Regions from separate parts of the Homo sapiens genome. Here all the other regions are linked to region 1. The links are contacts of gene promoters, found by promoter capture Hi-C in blood cells and fetal thymus (Javierre and others, 2016). All regions are on one chromosome and are shown on one strand. Each heading gives the region's core, a stretch centred on a gene start or on the middle of the fragment in contact. The rest is flanking DNA. Distances are from core to core; before and after follow the strand shown.

Region 1 (3,905 bases), core at 930-3,429:
GGTGTGTGCAACCAAGCTCGGCTAATTTTTTTGAATTTTGGTACAGGCAAGGTCTCACTATGTTGCCCAGGCTGGTCTCGAACTTCCGGGTTCAAGCAATCCTCCCACCTTGGCCTCAGAAAGTGCTGGGATTATAGCTATGAGCCACCGTGCCTGGCCCCTAGATGTTATTGAGGTCTTTCTCTTGGACATTCAGTTTTCCTAGAGTTGAACCTTCCAGTTTCTTGCCTGGGGCGCATATATGCCTGACTCCTACAGTTTTAGGAAAAAAGTGAGTTATAGCTGAGGGCCTTATCGTTCTGTAGGTATGCATATGTGGTATACATATGTAGTAAAATACACATCACATAAAATTTACCATTTTAGCCATTTGTAAGTATACAATTCAGTTGCATTAATTACATTCTCATTGTTGTGCAACCAATCTGCAGAACTCTTTTCATCTTACCAAACTGGAACTCTGCACTGATTAAACAGTAACCCCCTGGTTGCCTGAGTCCCTGGCAACCACAAGTCTACTTTCTCTATTATTTTGACAACTCTAAGTTTCTCATATAAATAGAACCATATATAGTATTTGTCCTTTTGTGACTGGCTTATTTCACTTAGCTTAATATTCTTAAAGTTTATCCACGTTGTGGCATGTGTCAGAAATTCCTTCTTTATGAAGGCTGAATAATATTCCATTTTAGGTACATATTATGTTTTGTTTACTCATTCATCAGTTGATAGACACCTGGGTTGCTTCCACATTTTAGCTATAGTGCTGTGGTGAACACGGTATGCAAATATCTGAGACCCTGCTTTCGATTATTTTGGCTATGCATACCCAGAAGTGAAATTGCTGGCTCACGTGGAGTTCTATTTTTAATTTTTTGAGGATGTATATACACTTTCATGTAATCACTCCTTATTGAGCTTTACTGTCTACCACATCTAGTGTTCCTGAGTGTGGAAATTCTCTTGTTCACCTCCTGTCCTCACTCCCTTCCAATAAGCCATGTCTTGTTTGGAGGATGGGCATAGAGTTGAGAGTAGTGATCTGGATATGTGGGGTTGGAAAGGAAATTTGAGAGCCCAAAATTCTGCCTGTGAACTTTGAACTCAATTTTCCAATCTCCTTTGCTACAGCTAAGCTCTCCCACCCACATCCGGTGTTTTCCTGGAGGCTGTAGGTAAATGTGTCAAAAAATTCAATTCATTGAAAGCCAGTTCACTTAAATGTCCAACTTGCAATAACTTTTCTATTACCTCCTTTTTTTTTTTTTTTTGACGGAGTTTCACTCTTTCACCCAGGCTGTGGTGAAGTGGGGCGATCTTGGCTCACTATAACCTCCGCCCCCGGGGTTCAAGCGATTCTCCTGCCTCAGCCTCCCAAGTAGCTAGGATTATAGGTGTGCACCACCACGCCTGGCTAATTTTTGTATTTTTAGCAGAGACAGGGCATCACCATATTGGCCAGGCTGGTCTCGACCTCCTGACCTCAGGTGATCCACCCACCTCGACCTCCCAAATTGCTGGAATTACAGGCGTGAGCCACCGTGCCCGGCCTCTATTACCTACCTCCTTACGTTTAGTTATCATTTTGTCTCCATAAAAGCATTTTAAGGCAAATTCAATTTGATTCCGTTCCAGTTTCCTTGCTGTTGCAGCTAGAGTCTGAGGGGCCCAGAGGAAAAGGAAAACCCAGAGGGGCATAAGAAGAATATAGAATATTCATTTTTATTCCTGAGGAAGTACAACCACCATGGATGGAAATCAGAAGTCACTAACTAGCTGTTTACTTCTGGGCAAATCTTTTGGCTCGTTGGCCCGAAAAGTGCAAAACGAGGGTCACAATTTTCATTCACAGATTGTATGTGTTTACACACATACTCACGAACGCTTAGCAAAGTTGAACCTGGAGCAAATGTGTTAATAGCCCTTAAAGGGTCAGTGTATGACGTCACCATAGTAACAACAACAGTGCGCATGCGTTTTTTTTTAAAGAGCCGGCGTGCTCCCGGCTCGGCTCAGCTCGCCCCCTTCCGTGGAGTGCTGCGCCCCCGTTTCCCCAGGCTGCCCCTCCCAGCAGGAGCCAATTCGCCAATCACAGCCCTCCTTTTCCTGACGTCATTGGCGCGTGCCCCGGTTTCAAAAGCTCGGGGGCGGGCTTCTGAGTTCGCGCATGCGCCTCTGTGCGTTTGTCCCATGCTGGTTCCGTGAGTCTGGCCTTAGGTGTCTCGTGTCTGGGGTTGATCCGAGCTGTCGCCGCCGCCGCCGCAATGGGCAAAACGGCCAACTCTCCGGGTTCGGGAGCCCGACCCGACCCGGTGCGGAGCTTCAATCGCTGGAAGAAAAAACACAGCCATAGGCAGAACAAAAAGAAGCAGTTGAGGAAGCAACTGAAGAAACCCGAATGGCAGGTCGAGCGCGAGAGTATCAGCCGCCTCATGCAGAACTATGAAAAGGTGAGGCCGGCGCTGGGGAGGGGGCTCGGGCCGGCCAGCAGCGGGGCAGCGTCTCACTGCGGCGAGGAGTTGCAGAGTGGAGGCGGCGGATCTGTCACCGGGACCCGGCCGGGAATGAGAGGTCACGCCGGGTGCCACAGCTCAAACCTCTGCACCGTTCTGGCCACTCTTCTGCTTGCCACACTGTTCCTAAAAAAATAATAGAAATGCGGCCGTACCTAAGGGTAGGGAGACTAATGCTGTAATAGCTACAGTCATATTCATATTAATAATACTGATGACAATAGTGGTAATAATGACACCTACATTTTTAAGCACTCACCATGTGCTTACAGTAATTGTTTGACTTGATCTGAGGTATGGATATTAATAATCCTATTTAACAGATGAGATAATTGAGGTTCTAAGAGGAATGAAACTTGTCCGAATCTTTCACGCTTAGTAGGTGGTGTGGAATTGGAAGCTAGATCCATGTCTTTCTAATCCCAAAGCCTTTGCTTTTAACCATGAAGCCAGACTGCATCCCTCAACATCATCTATGCTCCTTCCTGTGGCCACCTCATTTTCTCCACAGGCTTCATGTCCCCATCCAAGAATTGGCCTAGAAAAGCTGGACCGCTGGTCTGTTTCTGTCACCTATCATCCCCACATTGTAGCTGGTGTTCCCAGATGAGTATACCTGTAATGATCACTTTGACCTCCTGACTTCTTCCCCCAACCTCCAGACTCCACAGGTCTGTCAATTCCTCTTTTCCCTTTCCCTAAATCCCATGTTTGTTGGTCTTCACCCACATCTTTCAGCTTCTCAGCCCCCTTCTAGTGCAGTACAATCAGGGATTTAACAGATGGAACATTCTTGTAACTAAGGTTGCCATTGTAACAAATTACCACAAACTTGGCGGCTTAAAACAACAGAGATCTTGAGGTCAGGAGTTCGAGACCAGCCTGACCAACATGGTGAAACCCCGCCTCTACTAAAAATACAAAAAAATTAGCTGGGCCTAGTGGTGGGTGCCTGTAATCCCAGCTACTCGGGAGGCTGAGGCAAGAGAATCGCTTGAACCCGGGAGGCAGAGGTTGCAGTGAGCCCAGATCGCACCATTGCACTCCAGACTGGGTGACATGAGTGAGACTCTGTCTTAAACAAACAAACAAAAAAGCCCAGCAACAACAGAGATTTACCTTGTCACAGTTCTGGAGGCCATACGTCTGAAATCAGTTTCACTGGGCCAAAATCAAGGTGTCAGCAGGGACTTGCTCCCTCCAGAGGTTCTAGGGGAGAATCTGTTTCCTGCCTCTTGTAGCTTCTGGTGGCTGCTGGCATTCCTTGGCCTGTGGCTGCATAACTCCAGTCTCTGCCTTCTCCTGTGTCAGTCTATCTCTGTTCCTCTGTTATAAGGGCGCTTACGATTGCGTTTAGGGCCTACACAGATAATCCAGGATAATCACCCCATC
Region 2 (3,905 bases), core at 586-3,085, 1.3 Mb after region 1:
GCCATTCTCCATCCATCCCTGTGTCACTGACACCAATCCTCTCTATTTATCCAAAGGACTAATCTTCTTATAGCCTCGGGGCCTTTGAACATGCTGTGCCCTGTGTCTATTCTGCATTCTGTCTTCTCACTAATCACAAGCCATCTTTATACTTTGTTACTTAATATCTATTTCTAGGCCAGGTGGGATGGCTCACACCTGTAATCCCAGCACTTTGGGAGGCTGAGGTGGGCAGATCGCTTGAGGTCAGGAGTTCAAAATCAGCCAGGTCAACATGGTGAAACCCTGTCTCTACTAAAAACACAAAAATTAGCCAGGCATGGTGGCTCACACCTGTAATCTCAGCTGCTACTTGGGAGGCTGAGGCAGGAGAATTGTTTGAACCCAGAAGGTGAAGGTTGCAGTGAGCCAAGATCGCACAACTGAGCTCCAGCCTGGGAGACAGAGTGAGACTCCAGCTCCAAAAAAAAAAAAAAACCCTATCTCTAAGCTCAAATTTTAAAGCCTATGAAGTCAGGTAACAAGTCTGTCTTATTCATTTCTATATTCAGGCCAAGATTGGCAATTAGTAAAAAATTTGCTAAATGAGTTAAAGAATTCATTATTGCCTCCTATAATTTTCGATTATTTTAAACAAGCTTCTTGCCTAAAGAGTAAGCTCCTCAAGGCAAACAGTCATCAAATTCTAATAAGACCTAAGGTTGGAGACAGTGGCAGAGATGACTCAGACATGACTTGACAACGTAGTGGTGATAGAGCATGTAAACAAGTAACTGTAATACAACATTCAGAAGCGCCATGACACGCAATCTGCACACGTTTCTTTGAAAACAAGGAGGAGGAAGGGTTCATTCAGCTTAGCTGAATCCGGGCAGACATGGAAAAGAAGGTAAAATTTAAGCTGAAGTTTTGACGAACAAGGAAGAGTTCACAAGTAGCAAATCGGTGAAGGATGACTAAGGGGGTAAAGAAGGATGGCTAAGGGGGTAAAGTCAGAGACATGAGAAATAAACAATGGTATAGTGTAGGAAAAGGATGGACAAATGTCTTTTTCTCCACGGGAACCTCCATCCCAGTTAATTAAATGCATAAATAGACATTTAATCAACACTTGTGATTTGACTTTTGGAGAATGGTGAGAAATGTGGGAGTAACAATATTTATGGTATCTTGGCAAAGTCAGAATAAGAGACTAAATAGAACTAGCTTTCTTCCATCTTTAATATTCAACAACATTGAAACAATTGTACTTGATACTACTCTAAGGAAATGCCAATAAAAACATCATTGCCTGAGCTCCCCGTGTGTTTGATCAAATGAGCTTACATTTGAAACCTCTCTGAAAAAGGGTTGTAAAGGGTTGTGAGCTCCAGCTAAACATGTACTCACAAAATTAAACCTAAATTTTTTCCCCGGTGAACACCATTCTCTAGAGATATCTTCAAGTTGGCACTCCTTTTTTCTCTAGCTTCCTGTATTTCTGCCCTGAGAGGATGAGAGAGTGGCATTCTCTTGGCTCTCTGCTAACACCTCTAAGCCAATCTTCAATCACCCTCCTTTGAAAGTCAAGTCATGTCTTTACAGCACCTTTTACTACTCTTTGGCATGCTTTTATCCAATAATAATAAGCATCAGATTTCTCTATTCTTAACTATTATTTCCTAAATCAAAACATAAATATAGATTTAACCAATTAATTGCACTTAAGAAATCTAGTCTCACTCTAAATCTCTTTTGCTTAGAATTAAGTTCCAGAAAGCCAATCCCTCATTGTTTCCTCAATTTTTGGAGAATTGAAAATGTCAACAAAGGAAGTCAAGTTATTTATATTTCAAAAAGAGAAATGTTTAGTACTATACATACATTCTCAATTGTCTAAATAAGATACAAGAAAAAAATCACATAATTGCTGTTTATATGGAAAAAATTGGAGGAAGAGACCCTGTTTATGCAAAGTTTCTCTCTCTAAAGTAGCAAATTAAGCTCCTAGTAGTAGGCAAGAATCAAGAGCAAATTGCAAAAGTGTGATGCTTTGCTTATGTAATGATTTTAAGTAAACAGAAAACAATTGAAAGCCATAATTATGGGTATCTTAGGTAAAGAACTTCTACTGTTTTCATAGTTAGGACTCACCATTCTTTTGTATGATTTGGTTCTTGCTTCCACGCATCCAGTTAATATTAGTGAAATTTATTAGAGAAAGCATTATATATGCTGTACTGAAGACAAACTATCACATTAACGTTGCGTTTATGTCTATGCGTGAGAATTGTATTTCTGTGCCTAAGAACTTTGGGGTAGGATTCATTATTCCTGCTCTGATATTGACACTCTCTCTTTCAACAGAAATGGACCTTTTACAATATTGAATGGATCTCAGAGAAGACAATGAGGGAGGCTATAGTTCTCTAGGACTGAGAGAACAGCTTAGCACATGGGATAGGATTGGATTGAACATCACAGGCATGAGTTCTCAGCCCAACCCTGCCTCAACTGGCTACAAGGCTTTGGACAAGTCCCTTGAGAAATGGAGTCTGGGCCTAGAAGGAGAAGATGGCTCCAAGAGTCCTTCCAGCCTCAAACTACCAGGCTATTCTTCCAATATTTAGGCTAGAAATACTTCAGTTTTCAGGATCTAGCCTTCAGCTGCAACTGATGGCTAAAATGAAGGAGCACTTTAATGATTTAAGAAGCTATTCAGTTGTCATAAAAAAGTAATTTTGTTTCTTCCAAAGCTCCAGATTAGTATGGAGATTTTTCTGCTGAGTCTTATTTTTAAAAGGCATTATGCACATCAAGACTGACATAGCCATAAGGAATTGTAGAAATTTTAATATCTGTTGATGTGGATGAGAAACTAAAATTTCCATATTTAAAACTGTCATTTGACTTTTAAATGGATCACATTAAATTACTGTCAGAAATGTTCAATATTTTCTCATCTATATACGATTGTTTCTTGGTAGATGAAAGCTGCAATCTGGTTTCTTTGGCTACATGGCCATTTTTTCAGTTTGTCCCCAAACTTGCTACCAAGCTTGTCCCCAAAGCAAGAGGATGAGATTAAGTGACTGTGGTGTGTGTGTGTGTGTGTGTGTGTGTGTGAGAGAGAGAGAGAGAGAGAGGAAGAGAGGAAGAGACTGAGAGGAAGAGAGAGAGAAATAGCAGCAGCAAGGTAAGATAATATCTCAAAAAGGTATATTTTATTTATTTTGTCTGTTTTTGTTTTTTTTGAAGAAAGGTATATTTTTAAAATAAGGTTATTTCCCCAAACTATATGAATTTTTTAAATGACACACATAAGGAGAATATTTAAAATAAGAAGCCCAATAATATTTTGTTCAAAGACCTTCCAGTTGCATTTTTGTATATTTATAATGTAGCAATTGGGATTCAGGGAGTCAGGATTGATTTTTTTTTTCACCCAACATTATGAGAAAAAGTGAGAAATACATAATCCTACCTTAGCCCTCTTAGGCCAAATACAAAAAAAGAAAAAAAAATAGAAATGAGTTAAAACCTAATTTCTGTTCGGAATGTAATGTTTTGTGAAAGAGATGCAGACTTGGGGGGAAAATATTATTTTTGAGAGAACTGTAGAGGTAATTTGCAAATCAAAGCAGATGTTACTTATACTTTGTCTCATTTTTTTGTTACCATCCCTTTCTCCAACAGATCCAAGCATAGTTATCAGCACATATTAGGTTTAAATATTTCTTGATTGAGTGCTTGCTAAAAGTAATAAATATCCAAACTTAATTAGCAATAAGTAGTTTATCTAAATATCCAGCTAGAAAGAAGATGGAAAAGTGTAATAATTCTTGCAAGAGAAGGAAGGAAGGAAGGAAGAAAGGAAGGAAGGAAGGAAAGGAAAGAAGGAAAGAAGGAAAGGGAGATGAGGGAGA
Region 3 (3,905 bases), core at 970-3,469, 1.1 Mb before region 1:
TTAACTTCAAGTTAAAGTGCCATTGGGGTTTGATCTAAAATCAAGGCTCAGGAGTCACTGATTAACTAGGACACTTAACTCAATTCCAGCCCAAGAGGAAAATGTGAAAGACAAATACAAAAGTCATTTTTACCTTCAAACACTGGATTCCCAAGTACTTGCAGAACAAAAGCAATAACCAGGTATAAAGACTAGGCGTATCAATAATTACGATATGGACTTCTCCACTGATCTATCAATTTACATTAACTCAGCACCTCTTAAGTAAAAGAAATGTTGCTACACGGTGAGGGTATACAAAGCCAGTAGGAGGGTCCCTGTCCTCAAAGAGCTTACAAGCCAATGGAAAGACAGCTAGGTAAGAAAGGCAAAGAAGAAATGCCCTGGCTGACTAGTTAATCTGGGGTCAAGCTTACTTGGCTCAGCCCTTCCCTCTCATTTTCAGAGCCAGCTGGTTTGCAGGAGCTAACACATGCTCCTTCACATTTCATCCTACAGGCCTCTGCGTCTTTAAGAGTGGCCCCGGCCTCTGTGCTCTACAGGAACGGCCTCTGCTTCAGCTTCAGTTGTCTCGCTGTGCTAGAGACAAGGTCAGCATGTCTCTCTAATTCAGAGGTGTAGTATTCACAAATCCACAGCTACAAATCTAAAGCCATCAGTTTTCATTATAATAAATGTAGAAAAGAAAACAAAACTCCATAACTCCTGCCGTTAATAAAACCCTTAAATTAAAGACGTCATAAGTGTGGGGCCCTAATCTTACACGTGGAAGCTCGCTCTCTCTCCATGCACATGCACACACAGAGAAAAGGACATGTGAGGACATTGAGAGAAGGTGGCTGATGACAAGCCAGGAAGGGAGGCCTCACCAGGAACCCAATCAACCAGCACCTTGATCTTGAACTTCCCAGCCTCTACACTGTGAAAAAATACATTTCTGTTGTTTAAGCCAAAAAAAGTAAAAAATAAAACCCTTAAAATCATTTGATTGCTATAAACGTCAGATGAAGATGCTGCTAACAAGTATAAGAAATCAGTATCATAAAGATTTTTCACCAGAATGTCATCCTGCAATTGTCTCCCATATTATCAAATAGAAAGAAGAGAAAGATCATCCAACCAATCAGCCTTCTTCTATCTATAAATTATTTGGTTTCTTCCATTACACGTCTCCTATGTTTTTCAGACCAATGTCTTCCCTCTCTAAAGGAAACGTTGAAAGGGAAACAAACAAAAAAAATCACAAACAGTGATTTGTATCAGTGTGTTTACACTTTGAAATGCAAGTTCCTCAAGGGATTAAAGTGTAGATTTGCAAAGACTGAAGTCAACACAAGTAACAAACATAAGCAAGGCAATCTGACAGTTAATTTGAGCTTAAAAATAATGTATTTGCTTGGCTGGGCGCGGTGGCTCATGCCTGTAATCCCAGCACTTTGGGAGGCTGAGGCGGGCAGATCACCTGAGGTCAGGAGTTTGAGACTAGCCTGGCCAACATGGTGAAACCCCATCTCTACAAAAATACAAAAATTAGTTGGGCCATGATGGTGTGCGCCTGTAATCCCAGCTACTTGGGAAGCTGAGGCAGGAGAATCACTTGAACCCAGGAGGCAGAGGTTGCAGTGAACCGAGACCACGCCGTTGCACTCCAGCATGGGCAACAAGAGCGAAACTCCATCTCAAAAAAAAAAAAATAATAATAATAATAATAATAATATATCTGCCCTTAGAGAATTATATCATCTACTCAGTTCCAAAATATGTGACTAAAATTTTTGAACAAGAAATACTCACCTTGCCCAGGTTCATACTGATTTATGGTCATTTGATCAGGTTTATGTTTAATGTAACCTTTCCTCAACCATTTCTCCAAAAAGCTTTCACAAATGTCAGGAAGACCTACAATGAGTAATCATAAAGACAAAACATTAAAATATTTACTTTGCTTGTTTTACTCAACAATTTTAAAAGTCACTGTGATATAAATCTCTGAGCTTTTAATTTAGCAGTCAGGTCCATTAATAAACCCACAAGCAAAACAAAATTAAAAAATAAAAAAATTTAGGAATCTTTTAAAGTCATTTCATTGATTTTTTTTCAGATAAAAAGTTTAAAAGAACAATTCTAACAACAGTTTTGGTATTTTATAAAATAGCAATAAAATTATAAAAATATACTATATATTGAAATTGTCCACTTTCTTTTTTTGTTATTTTAAATTATACCATTTATTTTAAATTTAATTATTTTAAATTATTTCCCTTAAAAAAAACACATCTTCCAAAGTGGAACTAACTTACTTTTATTGGAGTCATAAATGTTGTTTCATGATGGAAGAAAAGCCTTAAGTGAGACCAAAGTCATTAAAAAAATAGATAAATTTAACTCCAACAAAGAATTATACCAATTATATCAATGGATTAAAAGCCAGAATATACAGTAAATTCTTAATCAATTAGACACTTCATTGGGAAAAAACTGGCAAAGAATATAAAAAGGAATTCACAGGAAAGGAAATACAAATGACCAACCTTACCAGTAATCAAGAAATTATAAATTTAAAAGCTTTACAACACCACAGGTTGGGGAATGGGGAAGTAGGTACACATTTGGTGAGAATATGCTGGTACAACTGTTTTAGGAAGCAATTTGTCAGTATCAATTAACGTTTTTTAGTGAACATAAACTTCAACATGACAATTCTACTTCTTAGTAGTCTCCCTTGAGAAACTCTTGCACAGGGCACAGAGGCATGTTCAAAGATATTCACAGCAGCATTACTTATGAAAGCTAAAAACCAGAAACAACCTAAATGTCTATCGATAGAGAACTATTTGAATAAGCTATTATGGATCATTCAGTAAAATGAGAAGCAGCATGGGAATAAGGATAATAATGATGAACTTCAGCTCTATCCAGTTTGAAATTTTTTTACAACAAAACTATACAATTTATCTAATTAAAGTGTTTTAAATAAACTGTTCAGAAAGTTTATCTACAAATGACAAAAGAAACATAATCCCCCAACTATCATATTCTACTAATATATTAATATTTTTGAGCCAGAATTTATTATGTATTAGCAATTACTTACCCCCAGATAATGGCTTATCTTTATCTACATTGTTGTTCTCATAGTGGAACTCATAACCAAAATGCTTTACTCTTCTGTGTTTTAAGGATTTTTGAGCTGTGTGAAGAGAACAAAGTAAACAATTAAGAAGGAAAAGAATTACATTCCTTTGCATATTTCAGTCAACTTTTTGAGTAAGGATTAGTTTAGTAATGGCAACTTCTGTTAATTGGTAAATTATGGTCTTTAACAAAATTAACCATTTTGCCTTATATTTGTTGTTATTTCAAGTCTAAAATTGTAACAAACTCTTCAAGAGTTTTACCCAATCAATCTGAAAACTAACATGTACACTACCATTTACAACATTGCCAATGAGCTAGAAAGAGTCAGAAAAACTCCAATTTGCAAATATCTCCAGGAAGCTCTCACTATATTATAATATTGTGGTACTGAACTGCTAATTCCTCAAGGAAAACTTGCCTTAGGGTGGGGAGGAATGAATAAAATAAGTGAAAAGGCTTATAAAAGCTATATAAATGTTGGATAATACTAATCAGTTTGGAGTTAAAATTTGATAGCTATATAAATGTTATTTATTATTAATGTTCCTAAGAATTGTTGGTATGACTTGCCTAACATTGGATCCGGGCTAGTTTCAGTAATTTTGAGGAAATATTAATAAACCATGAAAGACAGAGGAAAGGAAGAAGAGTTTTGCAGAAACTTTCAAATATCAGATTTTGAAAGTTTTACTTACAGTTTTGATTGTCTGTATCTTCTGTCCAATCAACACTTTCCAAAAGCATTTTCTCCTCCTCAGAAGAAATTA
Region 4 (3,905 bases), core at 785-3,284, 1.1 Mb before region 1:
ACACAGGAACTGTCTTCTGCCAACAACCTGAATACGTTTGGAAGCAGATCCTTCCAAGGGTATCTTGATAAGAGCCCAGCCAGTTGGCTTCTTGGGATTTTGTCTTTATGAAGTTCGGAGCAGAGAAGTCAACTGAACCAACCCAAACTTACAACCTACAGAACTGTGATATAATAAATTTGCGTTGCTGTGAACTGCTAAACTTGTGGTAATTTGTTACAGCAGCAATAGAAAACTATTACACACTCTCACCCCCATATCAAACAGTAGCTAAGGGAAGTAGAATTACCATGACTGCTATAAGGCCAATCATGATTCACTCTGTGGGGCTTGGATGAAGTGTGTCCTCCCTGAGATCAAGAGACCTTGACAGACTATGGGCAGGGAATGAGGGGAATAGGTTTCTATTAGCAAGAAAAAGGGGAGACAATCATTGGGTAGACCACTAACAGTGTGTCCCATAAGGGATGGAGCACTTATTTTTGGCCAGATTGTCACATTACGAGCTCTCCCCAAACCTATGAGAAAAGGATGCTAAAAGAATGGCCACTCTTCAATTAGCCAGACATGGTGGCATGCACCTATAGTCCTAGCTACTCAAGAGGCTAACATGGGAGGATCACTTGAGCCCAAGAATTCAAGGTGACAGTGAGCTATGATTGCACCACTGAACTCCAGCCTGGACGACAGAGTAATGAGCACTCTCATCAGCTAATAAAGCATCCAAAACTAGAATTCTTACAGCTATTGTATTCTAGTTCAAGAGTCTTCAATCAGAAAAAAATTGAAAATGGCCCCAATAGTCCTTGAAAATTGTTACATTTTTACTGTAGTTCCAAACTATGAAACTGTTTGACTGCAGTTTCAAACTCAATTCCTATGGTTATGAGGTTTCTAACCTCGCCCTTCTCCCTACAGCCCCTTTCCCCACCATCTGTTTCTGGCTACTTTCTAGTTTTTCTTCCAGTTGTCCCCTGTGGCAACTGTACTAGTTTTGCTTGTTTTTCTATTTATGGTTTAAAAAAAAAAAGTTTTATTTCTCAGTCTTTCCTCTCATTTACTCTTCTGCTACTTATTTTATTCCTCCTGGAAAAATGACAAATTTGTATCAAGTTTTCTTTCCAAAGTTGTGTCTTCTCTGCTGCTTCCCTGGTTGCTGGCTTCTTGAAACTTCAGCAAGAATGCATTATGTAAAACCATTTGATGTTCACTGTGACATTTCAGGACTGAATACATTATTCACGCTATGGTGATAAAAATTCAATGAAAAGTTTGCAGTTTTATAAGTCATATGGTGAAAGTATTCCCTGTACAGTAATTAGAGGCAAAAGGTAACCAAGAAAAAAAACAGAGGAGAAGGAAAAGGGTCAGCCTTTAATTTATAATACAAAACATAAAACTCAGCTTGGAGAATTCATTTATTATTATTATTTTTTTTTTTTGGTCATTTGCAAAGCATACAATTTTAGCTACGAAGCATTAACCTCCCCCAAATGGTCTATTTATTCTTGAGGCTAAAGGCCTGCTTACTTTGCAGAATAATTTTCTTTTCTACACAGATTTTTTAAATAGATGAGAATAAAGAACTAGCAGGCAACTCAGGGTGCAGGAAAATCTTTGGGGTGGCTAGAGGTGTGGGATTTGTGGATTTTAAAAGGTTATGATAAAATAAAACAAAATCTTTTAAAAATGTTTCCCTTAAATGTAGAAGAAAAAAGTATATTTTAAAAATGTATAAACATTTCATTTAAAAATGTCTTGCCACATTGATGGCTTCATTCTATCATTAATTTCTCAAAGACACAAAGATATTTGCCCAGAGAGGGCAAGCTTCATTATTAACTATATTTGTGATCGCTTCTAGTTTGGGGAGTAGACTTCTTGTCAGATCTGATTAGATAGTCTCAGCTGTTAGGTTGGGACTGAGAGCTCATACTAGGAGCATTAATTTTGCTATTTTCTGTTGGTTATTTGTGCTTGAATTATTGTCTATATTCATCTTCACTGTAGGGAATTCAGAGTTTTCTAACCCACTTGTCCATTTTGCAAAAAATAGTTTTTGGATTACATAATCCAAAAATCCATTTATCAGGCACCACAAAAAAATAATGTCTCGCTTAAATCAAAAGAGGGAGGATGCCAGAGGCAGCTGTCCTGCCTGTGAGCTCTCACTCCTCTCCTCTTCTAGAGCACCTCTCATAAAGTCTGTGACATGTAACATCAGACATTCACACCTAATGAAGCTTCCAGGATATTAAATGTGAATAGAGATTAATTTGTTTTAGATAAACATATAAATGGAATTTCTAGAATATTCTTCTAAATCCCACAAGCCATACACACTTCACTTTAGAGGCCACTGCACTAGGGCATGTTCCTCAAAGGCTGGTTCTTAGACTACTTGCATCAGAATCACTGAAGTGCTTGGTTAAGTGGTCTCCAACCCCACTAGACATAACGAGTCAACTTAAAGCACATATAAATTTTAATTCTCTGAACACCAGTTGGTTACAGTGTGTGCTCCAAAATCTCTGGGGCCAGGGCCCAGTAACCTGCATGTTTAACAAGCAATTTTGCTACTTTTGCAAGTGTTCAACCACTGAGGAAAAAGATTGTATGTTATTTGTCAACATAGACCTCTTTAAAAATCATCCCCAGAGTGAGAAGCTGCCAGATTTCTAGTATATTTGGAATTCTCATTTCAAGGGAAGTATTTTAATTTTATAAGGTGCAAGGACCAAGAAGCAGATGATTCAAATTTCAGATTATTAAATTATTAAAGAATAATAGATTATGTTTTATAATTTGACAAAAGTTTTTAAAAAATTTTTAATAAAAAATAAAAACAACTCTTTTTGGCATCTCTTATATCCCATTTTACAAATGTAACAACTGAGACTTAAAGACAAAATGTATGAGCTGTTTAAATATAAATTTTTTTATTTTTATTTTTGTATTTTTTTGAGATGGAGTCTTGCTTTGTTGCCAGGCTGGAGTGCAGTGATGCAGTCTCGGCTCACTGCAACCTCTGCCTCCTGGGTTCAAGTGATTCTCCTGCCTCAGCCTCCCAAGTAGCTGGGACTACAGGCATGCGCCACCATGCCCAACTAATTTTTTTGTAATTTTTAGTAGAGATGGGTTTCACCATATTGGCCAGGATGGTCTTGATCTTCTGACTTCATGATCCGCCTGCTTTGGCCCCCCAAAGTGCTGGGATTTAAATATAAAATATTTTAAAGAGTGATTTACATCCATGTCTGTTATCGCATGAGTAAAAGAGCTAGCTTTTATTTTATTTTATTTTTTATTTTATTTTTTGAGACAAGAGTCTTGCTCTGTCACCCAGGCTGGAGTGCAGTGGCGCAATCTTGGTTCACTGCAACCTCAGCTTCCCAGGTTCAAGCAATTCTCCTGCCTCGGCCTCCTGAGTAGTTGTGATTACAGGTGCCTGCCACCACGCCTGGCTAATTTTTGTATTTTTAGTAGAGACGGGGTTTCACCGTGTTGGCCAGGCTGGTCCCGAACTCCTGGCCTCAAGTGATCCTCCCGCTTTGGCCTCCCAAAGTGCTGGGATTACAGGTGTGAGCCACCGTGCACGGCCTAGGGCCAACTTTTATACGTTAAAACATGTACCTCTTTACATCTACCTTTTATTACAAGCACAAAGTGCTTAACATACACTATTCCTGAATCCTTCAATAACCGTACAAGTTTTATTCTCCCAATTTTACAAATGAGCTCTGAGGCTCAGAGAGTTTAAGCAACTTTCCCAAGATTGACACAGTTAGTGATAAAGCCAGGAGTCTAACCCAAAGGTTTCCCCTTTACCAACTGCATGCATTATTGCTGAGGGACACCATTGCAGAAAAGACGTGTCCTTTTTTATATTTTGAAGTATTCCAAGT

Evidence for each region. The method cuts DNA at HindIII sites, captures the fragments that hold promoters and counts their contacts. A CHiCAGO score of 5 or more calls a contact.
Region 2: a fragment that was not itself captured here is called in contact with the fragment with the promoter of DDX10 in region 1 in 2 of 17 cell types (M2 macrophages and M0 macrophages); the score reaches 6.1 in M2 macrophages.
Region 3: a contact is called between a fragment that was not itself captured here and the fragment with the promoter of DDX10 in region 1, in 1 of 17 cell types (total CD8 T cells). The highest score is 5.3, in total CD8 T cells.
Region 4: a contact is called between a fragment that was not itself captured here and the fragment with the promoter of DDX10 in region 1, in 6 of 17 cell types (total CD8 T cells, total CD4 T cells, naive CD4 T cells and 3 more). The highest score is 7.9, in total CD8 T cells.

Annotation. Positions count from the first base shown.
Region 1 is chr11:108,662,890-108,666,794 of GRCh38, forward strand. DDX10 (DEAD-box helicase 10) reads left to right here and starts at 2,180. Exons shown (of 18, transcript NM_004398.4): 1 at 2,180-2,450. The coding sequence starts at 2,265. The HindIII fragment of the contact is 12,853 bases long and covers 1-3,905 here.
Region 2 is chr11:109,940,197-109,944,101 of GRCh38, forward strand. No RefSeq gene overlaps it. Among named protein-coding and RNA genes, the nearest start is that of LINC02715, 120 kb to the left of the region's middle. The HindIII fragment of the contact is 2,399 bases long and covers 637-3,035 here.
Region 3 is chr11:107,550,014-107,553,918 of GRCh38, forward strand. It overlaps ALKBH8 (alkB homolog 8, tRNA methyltransferase), which reads right to left. Exons shown (of 12, transcript NM_138775.3): 4 at 3,834-3,905; 5 at 3,095-3,190; 6 at 1,795-1,899. Among named protein-coding and RNA genes, the nearest start is that of ALKBH8, 14 kb to the right of the region's middle. The HindIII fragment of the contact is 688 bases long and covers 1,876-2,563 here.
Region 4 is chr11:107,571,222-107,575,126 of GRCh38, forward strand. No RefSeq gene overlaps it. Among named protein-coding and RNA genes, the nearest start is that of ALKBH8, 7.4 kb to the left of the region's middle. The HindIII fragment of the contact is 413 bases long and covers 1,829-2,241 here.